3 separate regions of the Homo sapiens genome follow, and all the other regions are linked to region 1. Evidence: promoter capture Hi-C in human tissues and cell types (Jung and others, 2019). All regions are on one chromosome and are shown on one strand. Each heading gives the region's core, a stretch centred on a gene start or on the middle of the fragment in contact. The rest is flanking DNA. Distances are from core to core; before and after follow the strand shown. Region 1 holds the start of NUP210L (nucleoporin 210 like). Region 2 holds the start of AQP10 (aquaporin 10). Region 3 overlaps GATAD2B (GATA zinc finger domain containing 2B).

The links. The method cuts DNA at HindIII sites, captures the fragments that hold promoters and counts their contacts. A contact is called where the count stands out against the background at its distance.
Region 2: a contact is called between the fragment with the promoter of AQP10 here and the fragment with the promoter of NUP210L in region 1, in 1 of the 25 tissues and cell types used here (aorta).
Region 3: a fragment that was not itself captured here is called in contact with the fragment with the promoter of NUP210L in region 1 in 1 of the 25 tissues and cell types used here (adrenal gland).

The regions. Positions count from the first base shown.
Region 1 is chr1:154,153,576-154,158,370 of GRCh38, reverse strand. NUP210L (nucleoporin 210 like) reads left to right here and starts at 3,298. Exons shown (of 40, transcript NM_207308.3): 1 at 3,298-3,529. The coding sequence starts at 3,327. It also overlaps a transcript of TPM3 not described here. RefSeq lists a silencer at 2,180-2,357 and enhancers at 2,964-3,464, 3,465-3,965. The HindIII fragment of the contact is 16,458 bases long and covers 1-4,795 here.
Region 2 is chr1:154,317,965-154,322,800 of GRCh38, reverse strand. AQP10 (aquaporin 10) reads right to left here and starts at 1,708. Exons shown (of 6, transcript NM_080429.3): 1 at 1,541-1,708; 2 at 742-868. The coding sequence starts at 1,645. RefSeq lists a silencer at 1,738-1,929. The HindIII fragment of the contact is 14,849 bases long and covers 1-4,836 here.
Region 3 is chr1:153,916,540-153,921,132 of GRCh38, reverse strand. The region is part of intron 1 of GATAD2B (GATA zinc finger domain containing 2B); the gene reads left to right. Among named protein-coding and RNA genes, the nearest start is that of GATAD2B, 4.1 kb to the left of the region's middle. The HindIII fragment of the contact is 5,978 bases long and covers 282-4,593 here.

The sequences.
Region 1 (4,795 bases), core at 2,049-4,548:
CCTTTTTCTGGTTTTATGTTAATTTCAAGTAACTGTCACAAGCTAGTTCTGTTCAATAGCTCTGCAGCAATCTCAAGGTTTGCTTACAACTACTTGTTTCAGTAGTATTCTTGGCTTTGTTTTCTTTAGAGATTATTTGACTTAACTGTGAGCGCCCTTTTATTTATCCCATCAGTTATTACTTTGGCCTCTACTTTTTCGAAAAAACATGTAGTGCATGAGGATCTTCCTGTGCTCTTTATAATCTGAGATTCTGATGTTTCTATTGTTTGCAATGTTCAAACTCCGGTGAGCCATTTCAAGAGGGTATTGTTATGTGGGCAAAACCTAGAAAAGTGGATGGCTGATGGTTAAGGCTTGCTCTTTCATTGACTGAAAGCTGAAAGTGTTGGTTGGGTGTGGGAGGGAGAGGAAATGGCTGATAAGGGCCCTAACTCCCTCACCCAGGAAGTGCAGCAACACCTACAACTTCAGTAGGCAAGCCAAAGGCCCTACAAAACTGGGTGATGTAATAGCTCACTTCTGTGGCTGAGAAGGCAGCTGCTTTATCAGTCTGCAGCTTCTCTGCAACAGGAGCAAGTCTCAAAGAGCGGGTAGACCTTGAAATTTACTTCTAGTTCTTGTAACTTCTCTCCTTTACCCCCATTAGATAAACTGAAATGCACCAAAGAGGAGCACCTCTGTACACAAAGGATGCTGGACCAGACCCTGCTTGACCTGAATGAGATGTAGAACGCCCCAGTCCCACCCTGCTGCTGCTCCTCCCTCTGACCCAGACTCCGCCTGAGGCCAGCCTGCGGGAAGCTGACCTTTAACTGAGGGCTGATCTTTAACTGGAAGGCTGCTTTCTCCTTTCACCACCCCCTCCTTCCCTGTGTCTTTTTCGCCAAACTGTCTCTGCCTCTTCCCGGAGAATCCAGCTGGGCTAGAGGCTGAGCACCTTTGGAAACAACATTTAAGGGAATGTGAGCACAATGCATAATGTCTTTAAAAAGCATGTTGTGATGTACACATTTTGTAATTACCTTTTTTGTTGTTTTGTAGCAACCATTTGTAAAACATTCCAAATAATTCCACAGTCCTGAAGCAGCAATCGAATCCCTTTCTCACTTTTGGAAGGTGACTTTTCACCTTAATGCATATTCCCCTCTCCATAGAGGAGAGGAAAAGGTGTAGGCCTGCCTTACCGAGAGCCAAACAGAGCCCAGGGAGACTCCGCTGTGGGAAACCTCATTGTTCTGTACAAAGTACTAGCTAAACCAGAAAGGTGATTCCAGGAGGAGTTAGCCAAACAACAACAAAAACAAAAAATGTGCTGTTCAAGTTTTCAGCTTTAAGATATCTTTGGATAATGTTATTTCTATTTTTTATTTTTTTCATTAGAAGTTACCAAATTAAGATGGTAAGACCTCTGAGACCAAAATTTTGTCCCATCTCTACCCCCTCACAACTGCTTACAGAATGGATCATGTCCCCCTTATGTTGAGGTGACCACTTAATTGCTTTCCTGCCTCCTTGAAAGAAAGAAAGAAAGAAGACTGTGTTTTTGCCACTGATTTAGCCATGTGAAACTCATCTCATTACCCTTTTCTGGGTTTGAAGCTGCTGTCTCTAGAAGTGCCATCTCAATTGTGCTTTGTATCAGTCAGTGCTGGAGAAATCTTGAATAGCTTATGTACAAAACTTTTTAAATTTTATATTATTTTGAAACTTTGCTTTGGGTTTGTGGCACCCTGGCCACCCCATCTGGCTGTGACAGCCTCTGCAGTCCGTGGGCTGGCAGTTTGTTGATCTTTTAAGTTTCCTTCCCTACCCAGTCCCCATTTTCTGGTAAGGTTTCTAGGAGGTCTGTTAGGTGTACATCCTGCAGCTTATTGGCTTAAAATGTACTCTCCTTTTATGTGGTCTCTTTGGGGCCGATTGGGAGAAAGAGAAATCAATAGTGCAACTGTTTTGATACTGAATATTGACAAGTGTCTTTTTGAAATAAAGAACCAGTCCCTCCAACCCTCAGACCTATTTGACTTTTATTTATTAAAACTAAATGTGCTTTCTCCACAGAAGCTATGAGGTTTGGGTTAAAAATAGCATCTTTGTGGGTGGTAGCAACAGGATTTATTCTTTATTATTATTATTTTTGAGATGAAGTTTCATTCTTGTTGCCTGGGCTGGAGCGTAATGGCTCGATCTCGGCTCACTGCAACCTCCGCCTCCTGGTTCAAGAGATTCTCCTGCCTCAGCCTCCCGAGTAGCTGGGATTACAGGCACCTGCCACCATGCCCGGGTAATTTTTTATATTTTAAGTAGAGACAGGGCTTCACCATGTTGGCCAGGCTGGTCTCGAACTCCTGACCTTCAGGTGATCCACCTGCCTCAGCTTCCCAAAATGCTGGGATTACGGGCGTGAGCCACCGCACCCAGCTGGAGCAACAGGATTTAATATAGAGCAAATGTTTAGTTTTATCATCTGTAAAATGGAGATAAGTATTGTCAGAGTAAACATGAAGATTAGAAAGAACACTTAATGTGCTGGGCCTTTTATAGGTTAACACTGACATCTCAGGCTGAACTATATACATTTTCCTTCACAACCATATCAATCCTTATAAACTATGGATTTATGCTCCTTAAAACAATATATAATGCTGATCACTACTATAAATGCGTGGTTTTAACCAACTGTACTGAAACAGCTTTGAGTTTATATTCTGTTTGGATATTTGGAGAAAACAACAAGTGCTCTCAAGAGTATTTGCTTAGAGGCCGGCTGTGTGAGTGGATAACTTTGAAAGCTGCTTTTGAGACGCCAGTGTCTGGCATTTCCTGCATTCTGGCCTGGAGGCCGGACGTGAATCTGACTTCTAGTAAAAATACACGGTTCCCTTGACAAAGTCGAGCTGTTTATCCCAGAGACTGCACAATTTTCCGTTGATAGGCATGGACCAATGCTAACTGGAAATCATTGCAAAAAGTTTTTTTGTCGGGCGGAGGGTGTGGTGTTAAGATAAACAGTGTGCAACAGAAGAAATTAAAACTGGAAGAAATTAAAGGGTTTTTTTTAGACTTTTCTGCTTGTTCCTTACTGTTAAAAAGGTCTGCCATCCAGTATTTAGGAAAGCCCTTTAAGAGAGTTTGAGGTGTTTTAGCTGGGTTTGTGCCAAAAGTTTCCATTATATTGGCTTGCTGAAGGACTGCATTTAAAAATGCCCACACATCCGAGCAAGAAGCAGGTCCCATCCCCCTCTGCTGACGTCACGCCTGTGGATTGGCTGATGGAGCTGTGAGCCGGCTGTAGTTGAGCGGGAACCCGAGACCTGGCAGTCGCCATGACTGGCTGTCCGGCGTCATCAAGACGCCGAGGCTTCGGGCTCTTTTTCTTCTTGCGTCTACACCGCCTCCTGTTGTTGTTTCTGGTTTTGCGTGGGACCCTGGCCAACAAACTTAACGTGCCACAGGTGTTGCTACCCTTCGGCCGAGAGCCAGGCCGGGTGCCTTTCCTGCTGGAGGCCCAGCGGGGCTGCTACACTTGGTGAGGGGTGGTGGGTGACAAGGATATGCACCCTCACTACCATCCAGTAAGGGTGAGGGGGGTTCCCTCTGTAAGATCCCACAGGAATACCGTGTGGGGCCGCGTGAAGGGGCCTAGCCGGTAGGGGAGGAGAGTGTGGTGTCAGTGAAGGTGGCGAGGAGCAGACCCTTGGGTGTGGCGTGTCCTACTCATGTGGTATATCCTCCAGCTGTGTGACAATCTTCCAGACGTGTGAGGAATTCTCGGGATGTGGGACTGGCCTCTTCTCTGTGTGTGTTGGGAAGGGGTGGTCACTATGAGCAGCCGTCAGGGTAAAGGGAAGCCCTGTGTTGGAGGCCACAGGTACTGATGACTTCCAATGTAAACAACTAGAGTAAGAGGAAGTTCCCCATATCTGAGGAAATTTCTGTAGGAACAGGAAAACTTGGGGTGCGAGGGTCCCCACTAACTATAGATGAGCTATTCAATGTGAGAAGGACTTAAAACACAACAGCCAAGTATTGGGGGTTAACTAAGCACTTTACATGTGTTAACTCATTCGCTTTTTGCAGTCTTATGAAGTAAGTACTATTACTCCCATTTCACAGACGAGGAAAGTGAGGCCCAGAGACTATGAAGTGTAAACTTCTGGGAATATGAGAAGATTTATCGTGGGTGGAGATGAGATCTGTCTGTATTATCAAAATTGCCCCATTTATAAAAGGGTACCCGCTTGAAGTGTGAGGACAGGGGGTACACACAACTCCGGGATAATGACTTCCTGACTGAAGATGAAGAGACATGATTTTCTGGTGTGAGAGGACCCAATGATGGGTTATGTGGTTGCCTAAGGTATGAGAGAACCTAACCGAAGTGAGCTTCAGGATGCCAGTGCATTCATCCTAGATGGAGTAGATACCCCTTTGCCATCTCCTAGGAGAAGCAATGAGGTTTGTTCCGAGTATAAATTCACCTCTCATTTTATGAGGAAGTATAAGGAAAGTGAGCTTGTAAGATGATCCAGTGTGACGTGTGTGTTTCCTGACCGTGAGGGTGATGCAAGGCATCTTTCCAGCATTGAAAGCCATTTCTTCTATCACTCCAAAAATATTAATGAGGCCAGGCATGGTGGCTCACGCCTGTAATCCCAGCACTTTGGGAGGCCAAGGCAGGAGGATTACTTGAGGCCAGGAGTTTGAGACCAGCCGGATCAACATAGTGAGACCCCGTCTCTATTTAAAATAAAAACATTCGGCCGGGCGCAGTGGCTCACGCCTGTAATCCCAG
Region 2 (4,836 bases), core at 459-2,958, 170 kb before region 1:
GTGGGCCAGGCACAGTGGCTCACGCCTGTAATCCCAGCACTTTGGGAGGCCGAGGCAGTGGATCACTTGAGGTCAGGAATTCCAGACCAGCCTGGCCAACATGGTGAAACCCCGTTTCCACTAAAAACACAAATATTAGCCAGGCGTGGTAGCAGGTGCCTGTAAAATCAGCTATTCGGGATGCTGAGGCAGGAGAATCGCGTGAACCCAGGGGCAGAGGTTGCAGTGAACAGACATCACACCACTGCTCTCCAGCCTGGGCAACAGAGTGAAACTCCATCTCAAAAAAAAAGAAAAAAAAAAAAAAAAAAGAAGAAGACACTGTGAATCCAAAGTTGGAACCTAGGTCTGTCTGCTTTTTCCACAGCAACACACTATGTCTCAAGGCTCCACCCAAGCACACCGATGCAGTGTGTATCTGGGGTACAAACAGGAGAGGTCCTGAGTGGAGATGAGCCCCCAGAGGACTTCAGGTGGGGGATACAAGAGGATAGCAGCTGCCCTTCGTGCCCTGCCATTGATTTCTGTCTAGGTGAGCCAAGCATTAGTGTGAGGAAGCAGGATGGAGAGATACAGAAAGAGGAGGGGCTGGTGGGGCCAAAGGCTTATTTCAGTCTGGGACACTGTTCAAGGGGATAATGTCCACGAGTCACAGAAGGATTTGCGTTTCCACCATCACCAGACAGACAAACTGGCATGCACATCCCACGTGCTCTGATGACCAGACCCCACCCTCCTCACCTGAGACGTTACCACCCACGTAGATGGCTATCGTAACGGCCAGAGAGCCAGCCAGAAACATGGTGAAGAAGTTGCCTTTGGTTTCTCCACTGGTGACAGCCTGGGCCACAGCTCCTTGGGTGAGGAGCTGCTGAGAAGAGGAGAGATGAGGAACAGGGAGCCCAGGAGACCAACAGGGAGAAAGGTTGGGAAGGCCAGGGGAGCAGCCAAGGAGATGAATGAGCACAGAAGACAAGCAAGGGAAGGAGAAAAGCAGAAGGAGGGAAGGGAAAAGAAATGGGGAAAGTGGAGGAAGAAGAAAGGGAAAGAATGTGGGAAAAAAGAAAAGAATTTACCCAACTCATAGGCATTTGAGGGTACAAACCCATGGCAGGGCTCAGCTTTAAAAAGTCTTATCTAAGATTCTTTCTATGGAAGAGTTCCATCAAAGCCAATTTTAAAAGCCTATGTGAAAAATAATTATTCTTGCTGCACTTTATACAATCATCAGGCCAAGTATAATAAAGCACATTGGTCTTACCATGAAAATGGTCTTTCATAAAAATGGGAAACTGAAGAGAGAAAAATTATGTTTCAAGAACTATGATACACTTGTTATTAAAGAAAGAATAAAAATGACAAGAATAAAAATGATGAAGTAGGAGAGGAAAGGAGATTAGGAGAGACGAGAGGATAAAAACGAAAAGTGATAGGGAGTTGAGAGGAAGGGGGACACCAAGAGAAAGAGATAAGGACAACAGAAGGAGCCAGGAACTTTTGCCCAACCCCCTTCTTTCCTTCCCGCAGTGATCCTACCTACCATGAGTACAAACACACCCAGAAACTCTGCCAGGCACTGCCGGGCCAGGAGGCTGCGTATCCGGAGGTGGCCCATGATTTCAGCCGGGGCCTGAGTGAAGACCATGGTGGAAACACCCTATTGCTATTCACTGCTCCCTCTGTCTGCATAGGCACACTGTCACTGCACAGCTACTGCCTGCCTCCAGCAAAGATAAGGAACAGACTTTAAAACCATTAGCTCAGTTCCTGAACAGCAGCTACGTGTCTGTGCACGTGTGTAGGCTAGGAAACAGAGAGATAACAAGAGAATGTCTGGGAGCAGGCTATGAACACAGAGCCTGGAGTTTACCCAACCTCTGTCTCTTTTACCCTTCATTCCCAGTCATCACAGGACTAGCCTCCCCCATCCTGACAAATAGAAGGAAGTACCCCGCTTCATAGACATTAGATCTCTTGGTCCTGAAGTCAGCTCTGCAAAGTAGTACTATTGCTTCCATTCTACAGATGAGGCTAGTGGGCCTTAGAACTCCCCAAGATCAAACTTTTTTTTTTTTTTTTTCTGAGAGAGAGTCTTGCTCTGTCCCCCAGGCTGGAGTGCAGTGGCACCATCTCAGCTTACTGCAACCTCCACCTCCCAGGTTCAAGCAATTCTCCTGCCTCAGCCTCCCAAGTAGATGGGACTACAGGTCCATCACACCTGGCTAATTTTGATATTTTTTAGTAAAGACTTGGTTTCTCGGGAGGCCGAGGCAGGCAGATCACGAGGTCAGGAGATCAAGACTATCCTGGCCAACATGGTGAAACTCCATCTCTACTAAAATACAAAAAAATTAGCGTGGTGGTGCACGCCTGTAGTCCCAGCTACTCGGGAGGCTGAGGCAGGGGAATCACTTGAACCAGGGAGGCGGAGGTTGCAGTGAGCCGAGATTGTGCCACTGCACTCCAGCCTGGCAACAGAGCGAGACTTTGTCTCAAAAAAAAAAAAAAAAAAAAAGACGGGGTTTCACCATGTTGGCCAGGCTGGTCTCAAACTCCTGACCTCTAGTGATTCACCTTCCTTGGCCTCCCAAAGTGCTGGGATTACAAGCGTGAGCCACCGTGCCCGGCCCAAGATCACACAATTATTTCATGGCTGAGTGAATTCAAATCCAGATTTTCTGACTCTCCAGCTGGTAACCCACAAAGCCTCTCATTTAGAACCTGAAGCCTTACCCCAAACCATTTGGATGCTTGAAGAACTCAATAGGCATCTGGAAAGACTGGGCTAAAGACCACAGACTGTGGGAATGAAACTCACATATTGAGTGCTTGTACTTCCCTTATGCCGAGTGTCACATAGGTTAGAGAATACTCCATCTTTGTGTCCCCTGACATGGCTTGACATGAGGCCTTCACACTCATGCTGAGCTCCACCTGGCCTTCTCTGGGTGCATGCCACTCTTGCTCTGCATGAAGTAACCGCATCCTACTTCTTCATATCTCAAGGCTCCAATTAAATGCATTCAAAGAATCTACGTCTAGACACTGGAGAAACAGTGGTGAACAAAACATAGTCTCTGCCCTCCTAGAGCTTATGTTCTAGTAGGTGGAAACAGACAATATGCAACTTTTTAAAATACCATATACAGTTTATGAAGTTCTTGAGGGCTACCATTATGATTTATGTAACCCTGTGGGCTCTACCACTGTCCTGGGCACATCTGTGTGACTAGTAAAGAAATAATATTTCTTTACTAGGTTTAATGGATACTATAGTGCTCCACCCAGATTCCCCCTTGGGAGCCAATATGCCCATTCGCTACATGTAGGAAATACCAGCTGCTGATACCACATAGCTACCTCCCTCATTGGGCAATGCCCTTCAAGTCAGAAAGATGCCTCACCGAAGGTTACATGCCCTCCTATGGGGCCCATGTCAAACACTGATTGATGGAGGGATATAAAAGTCTAGCCTCTTTGCCTCACTTTGCGACAACTCTAAAGGGCTGTTCCAGCTCCAGTTCCCCCATAGGATCCATTTAGGCATCTGTTATATCATCCATGTGTGTCAGTTTCTCCTGGTGCCTAATCTTGTTACAGGAAAGGGGTCTGAATCCAGATCCCAAGAGAGGGTTCTTGGATCTCACACTAGAAATAATTCAGGCTGAGTGCGGCGGCTCATGCCTGTAATCCTAGCACTTTGGGAGGCCAAGGCGGGATCACAAAGTCAGGAGATTGAGACCATCCTGGCTAACATGGTGAAACCCCGTCTCCATTAAAAATACAAAAAAATTAGCCGGGCATGGTGGTGGGCGCCTGTAGTCCCAGCTACTTGGGAGGCTGAGGCAGGAGAATGGCATGAACCCGGGAGGTGGAGGTTGCAGTGAGCCGAGATCGCACCACTGCACTCCAGCCTGGGTGACAGAACGAGACTCCGCCTCAAAAAAAAGAAAAAAAGAATTCAGGGCGAGTCCATAGAGTAAAGTGAAAGCAAGTTTATTAGGAAAGTAAAGGAATAAAACAATGGCTACTCCATAGACAGAGCAGCCCCGAGGGCTGCTGGTTGCCCATGTTTATGGTTGTTTCTTGATGATATGCTAAACAAGAGGTGGATTATTCATGCCTCCCCTTTTTAGACCATATAGGGTAACTTCCTGTCATTGTCATGGCATTTATAAACTGTCATGGCATGAGCCACCATGCCCGGCCATGACCTGTATCTTATGGCAACCTCCTATCTCATTCTGTAACTTAGAATGCTTTAACCATCTGGGAATGCAGCCCAGTAAGTCTCATTCTCATTTTACTCAGCTCTTGTTCAAAATAGACTTGCTCTGGTTCACGTGCCTCTGACATTTCCCCCCTTCCTTTTATAAGAGAAGCACTAATCCTAAGGGTTGCAGAGGGACGAAGGTCCATCTTCTGTAAGTTCTTCAGGATGAATAGGGGCGATGATATTTTTGCCTAACTCTTAGAATCTCTCATATTCGTGGTAGAGAGGAGCTCAGTTGGAAAGTGTTGGTATGGGCCAGGCGGGATGGCTCATGCCTGTAATCCCAACACTTTGGGAGGCTGAGGCAGGCGGATCACCTGAGGTCAGGAGTTCAGACCAGCCTGGCCAACATGGTGCAACACTGTCTCTACTAAAAAATACAAAAAAAATAGCCAGATGTGGTGGCGGGTGCCTGTAACCCTAGCTACTCAGGAGGCTGAGGCAGGAGAATCTCTTGAACCTGGGAGGCGGAGGTTGCAGTGAGCCAAGACTGTGCCATTGCACTCCAGCCTGAAAGAATGAAACTCCATCTGAAAGAAAAGAAAAGAAGGGAAGGGAAGGGA
Region 3 (4,593 bases), core at 2,021-4,520, 240 kb after region 1:
TCTTATTTTGGTGCTGGAGCAGCCTTTCAAGTATTGTCCTAGAGTAGTATTTCTGTCAGTACTTAGTTGGGAAGGAGGCCACTTCTGGAGGTGCTATGGAGGAGTTCAGTATATTTTGAGGGAAGGCCCACACTTGTTGGATCGTGCTGCTTTTTTTGTGACGGATATCTAGTCCCTGGCCATTTGGGAATGGACTGGGTCAAGGATCGGATTCATATAAGCAGATAGCTTATATGAATAACTAGTTGATGGTAAGGCTGTCTTCACTTTTTAGGGGAATAGAGTTTTTTTAGTCCAGTGGCAGTGATAGTCATCATGGAACAAGGTAGAAAAGTACTAATCAGCAGGAATCAGAAGGCTGAATCTATAGGCTGAGTGACCCAGTTTGAGTAGAGGTGAGGCTTACAGACTTTTGTCCTGCCTATTATTCCTTACTTGAGAACACTCTCCATGAGGTGAGAGTGATTTGTAGTTGACAGCAGCATCCATCTTTATGACACTGTGGTTTGCCTTCCCTGACCGTATGTGATGTGTGTTAACTTCCTGTTTAGAGGCAGTCCCAGTAGGGTCTGAATATAGGCTGCACTCAAATACTTTTCTAGGAACAGTGTTAACCAGGTTCCCTGATCAGCCCTTCAAATCTAAATTCTGGCAGTAACTTTTACTGCTGTGCTTAGCATAGGGCCACAGGGTGGTGGCAGAGGGAAGTGTGAGGAATTTGTTCTGAGCCTCACAACCTTAAAGTACTTTCAAAAGCTTGTATGCTGTCCCCCATTTTGGGGTTTTGCCCCCTTCTCCCCTTTTTTTGCCAGACGGGCAAGGCTGGACCTCCAGGTTGAATTTTGGGGACCATTGTGTCAGTGAAGGTATCCTAATCATGTGTTGAGACCTCTGAATTCATCTCACCTTTAAGCAGTGAGTCTTGTGTGTTGCATGTAAAGCATTCCTCCTGTTTCAATTTACTGATTCTTCTTCCTTTCCTCCCCCACCCACCAAGCTGGAGGTGCATGTGGAGGAAAACAGCAGCTGTGCTGTCCTGATTTCTAGACTCTGGAGCATATTCCATGTTAGCCACCCCATTGGGAGTCATGCTGACAAGCAGCCCCTCTGCGCTTAACTTAGAAGGCTCATGTTGCTTGGCTCATTGAGAAAAGCCAACCAGCTTTGGTTGATTAAAACAACTGCTAGAGAAATCGTAAGATTTGAGCCATAACTGGGACTGAGGGACTTTCTTTTCCAGACCTTTGCAGTACTTAAAGCCCTGCATTATTACATATCAAGGCACAATAGCCAGACATTTTCTGAGGTAGTTTGGAGGGAAAGAAAAAGTAAAGACACACACCCAGATTGACTGTAAATCTAGTCCTGGCATAAAGCTGTCCACCTCTTGCTTGGGGAAAAAATCCAGTCTATCAGACAATACCACATAGAGTTGCAGTTCTCCTGCTTTTGGCTAAGCCTAGGAAAAGATATATAAGGAAGTTCAGTTTATGTTACAATGACTGGATTTTGTGGTGTATCTTCTATTAGCCATATTATTTGGTTTATCCTCAGTAGTCTCTGTGAAGCTTTTTCTGTAGGTCCTGTTTGGGGATTTTGGTGGCTCCAGAATCCTTGAAGCAGCAACCTCCTTTCTTTGTGTAGCAGTGATGAAAGCTTCTGAAGAATAGGTCTGATTTGAAACAGACCCCTCCTCATGTTCCATCTTTTACCTTCTCCCTTGTGGATATATGAAATATTCCTGTATAGCTTGAATTCATCCAGTAAGAAGGGAGTGTCCCAGGGTCATTAGGGCTTTTAACCTGTCTGAGGTATTTAGATGGTGGCTTGGTAATGTTTGCTGTCTCTCACAAAATCCCCCTTACCTTTGCCATTTACCTAGGTTGCCATCAGCTGGCAAGAAACTATCAACAGTTTTGGGTTATAGTACAAAAAGCAGCAGATTACTAAGAACACATCATTCGTTACTTTTGAGATATGAAGTGGTCAGATCCAGACCTCAAAGAATCATAGTAACTGCAGAAGCATCTTTGACAATGTGTGAACTTGTTATTAATAATAACTAGTAAACTGCTAAAGAAATTAAGGGAAATTATAGCAATTCCATATTCCTGAGCCATTCTCTTACTGTTTTTCACACCTGGCTAGTTCCATTTTATTTTATTTTATTTTATATTTTTTGAGATGGAGTTTTGCTCTTGTTGCCCAGGCTGGAGTGCAGTGGTGTGATCTCAGCTCAGTGCAACCTCTGCCTCCTGGGTTCAAGTGATTCTCCTGCCTCAACCTCCCAAGTAGCTGGGATTACAGTCACCTGTCACCATGCCTGGCTAATTTTTGTATTTTTAGTAGAGACGGTTTCACCATGTTGGCCAGGCTGGTCTCGAACTCCTGACCTCAGGTGATCTGCCCACCTCAGCCTCCCAAAGTGCTGGGATTACAGGCATGGAGCCATTGTGCCCGGCCTTAGTATCCATTTAAAAAAATAATTCAGGTTACTGTTACCTAAAGCTGAGAGTCGTACTTTAAATCTTTTGATCAAAGCTTTCTTCGGCTTGTCTCATTTCAAGGGAGGGTGGAATTTATAATCTTTAAAAATACATGCTGGAATGTTAGTAGGATTTAGATTAGACACCAGGATTAATAAATTCTCATTATAATTGTGAAGGATTGCAAATGTTAACTGAAAGACTTGTGCATCTCTTGCCCAGAGGATTTTTATAATGTTAGCATTTTTAGAGTATTTAAACTCAAACTTGCTGAAAGAGAGGGGATGAACTAATATGTGGCAGATTGGACTAGTGGAACACAGGTTGTGGAGAGCCTTGAAGTCCTGGGTTGAATTCTAGCTTTGTGATTTATTAGCTAACTGATTTTGGGTAATGCTACTAATTTTTGAATTCTCATTTCTTGCAGACAGAGTAATGCCAGTCCTTGCAATAGCCTTTAAGGCTTTACATGGTTTGCCCTCCCCAACCTCTTCCATTTTTGATCGGCTGTCATCTTCCCTCTTGCTCTCTCCATTCCAGCCACACTGACTTGCTCCTTGAATGCTGATCAGTCACACTCTATCTTAGAACCTTGGCAGGTTCCTAAGACCAAGTGATTCCTTCTAGTGGGAAAACAGCTAGGTTTCCCCACAGAGAATGGCTGATTGCCTCACCTCCTTAACGTCTTTGCTTAAATGTCACCTTTTTAATGAAGTCTTATCCTTCCTTTCTTTAAAATTGTATTGTCAGTTCCCATCCCTCATGCTTATCCTTGCCTGCTCTATTTTCTTTTTCATAGGACTTAACACTTTTATAATATATTTATTTGTTACATTTATTGCCTATTGGTTCTCTTTCTATGATGTAGGTCTTAGAAGGCATGGATTTGTTTTGGTAATTTGTTTAGTGCCTAGTACAGTGCCTGGCATGTAGTTAATAATAAATGTTTGTTGGCCGGGGTTGGTGGCTCATGCCTGTAATCCCAGCACTTTGGGAGGCTGAGGCGGGCGGATCACATGAGGTCAGGAGTTCGAGACCAGCCTAGCCAACATGGTGAAACCCCGTGTCTACTAAAAATACAAAAATTAGCTGGGCGTGGCAGTGGGCACCTGTAATCCCAGCTACTTGAGAGGCCGAGGCAGGAGAATAGCTTGAACCTGGGAGGTGGAGGTTGCAGTGAGTCGAGATTGCACCATTGCACTCCAGCCTGGGTGATAGCGTGAGACTCAGTTTCAAAAAAAAAAAAAGATATGTGGGGCATGGTGGCTCACACCTGAAATCCCAGCACTTTGGGAGGCCGAGGCGGGTGTATCATGAGGTCAGGAGTTCAAGACCAGCCTGGCCGAGATGGTGAAACCCCATCTCTACTAAAAATACAAAAATTAGCCAGACATGGTGGCAGTTGCCTGTAATCCCAGCTACTCGGGAGGCTGAGGCAGAGAATTGCTTGAACCCAGGAGGTGGAGGTTGCAGTGAGCTGAGATCGTGCCATTGCACTCCAGCCTGGGTGACAGCGTGTGACTCAGTTTCAAAAAAAAATAGGCCGGGTGCGGGGGCTCACACCTGTATTCCTAGTACTTTGGGAGGCCGAGGGGGGTAGATCACGAGGTCAGGAGTTCAAGACCCGCCTGGCCAAAATGGTGAAACCCCATCTCTACTAATAATACAAAAATTAGCCAGACATGGTGGTGGGCGCCTGTAATCCCAGCTACTCGGGGGGCTGAGGCAGAGAATAGCTTGAACCCGGGAGGCAGAGGTTGCAGTGAGCCGAGATTGTGCCACTGTGCTCTAGCCTGGTCAACAGAGTGAGACTCTCTCTCAAAAATAAATAAATAAACAAATAAAAGTTTGTTGATCCAATAGGAATAAAAATAACCTGTCATACTAATCTCATGTTTGTATGTAACAAAAGTATGAAATACAAGCATAAAATGTTTTGTGAACTTTAAAGCATAATGCAAATAATGATGAAATTATTGCCTTCCCGTTAAAATGGTAAAATACACTTGATTATTGAAAAAAACTTCATATATATTCAATATATTATCATTTCTCTCCTAAACTCCAGCCCTTTGTTTCCGGTTGTCTACTGTGAGCTAGACGTATC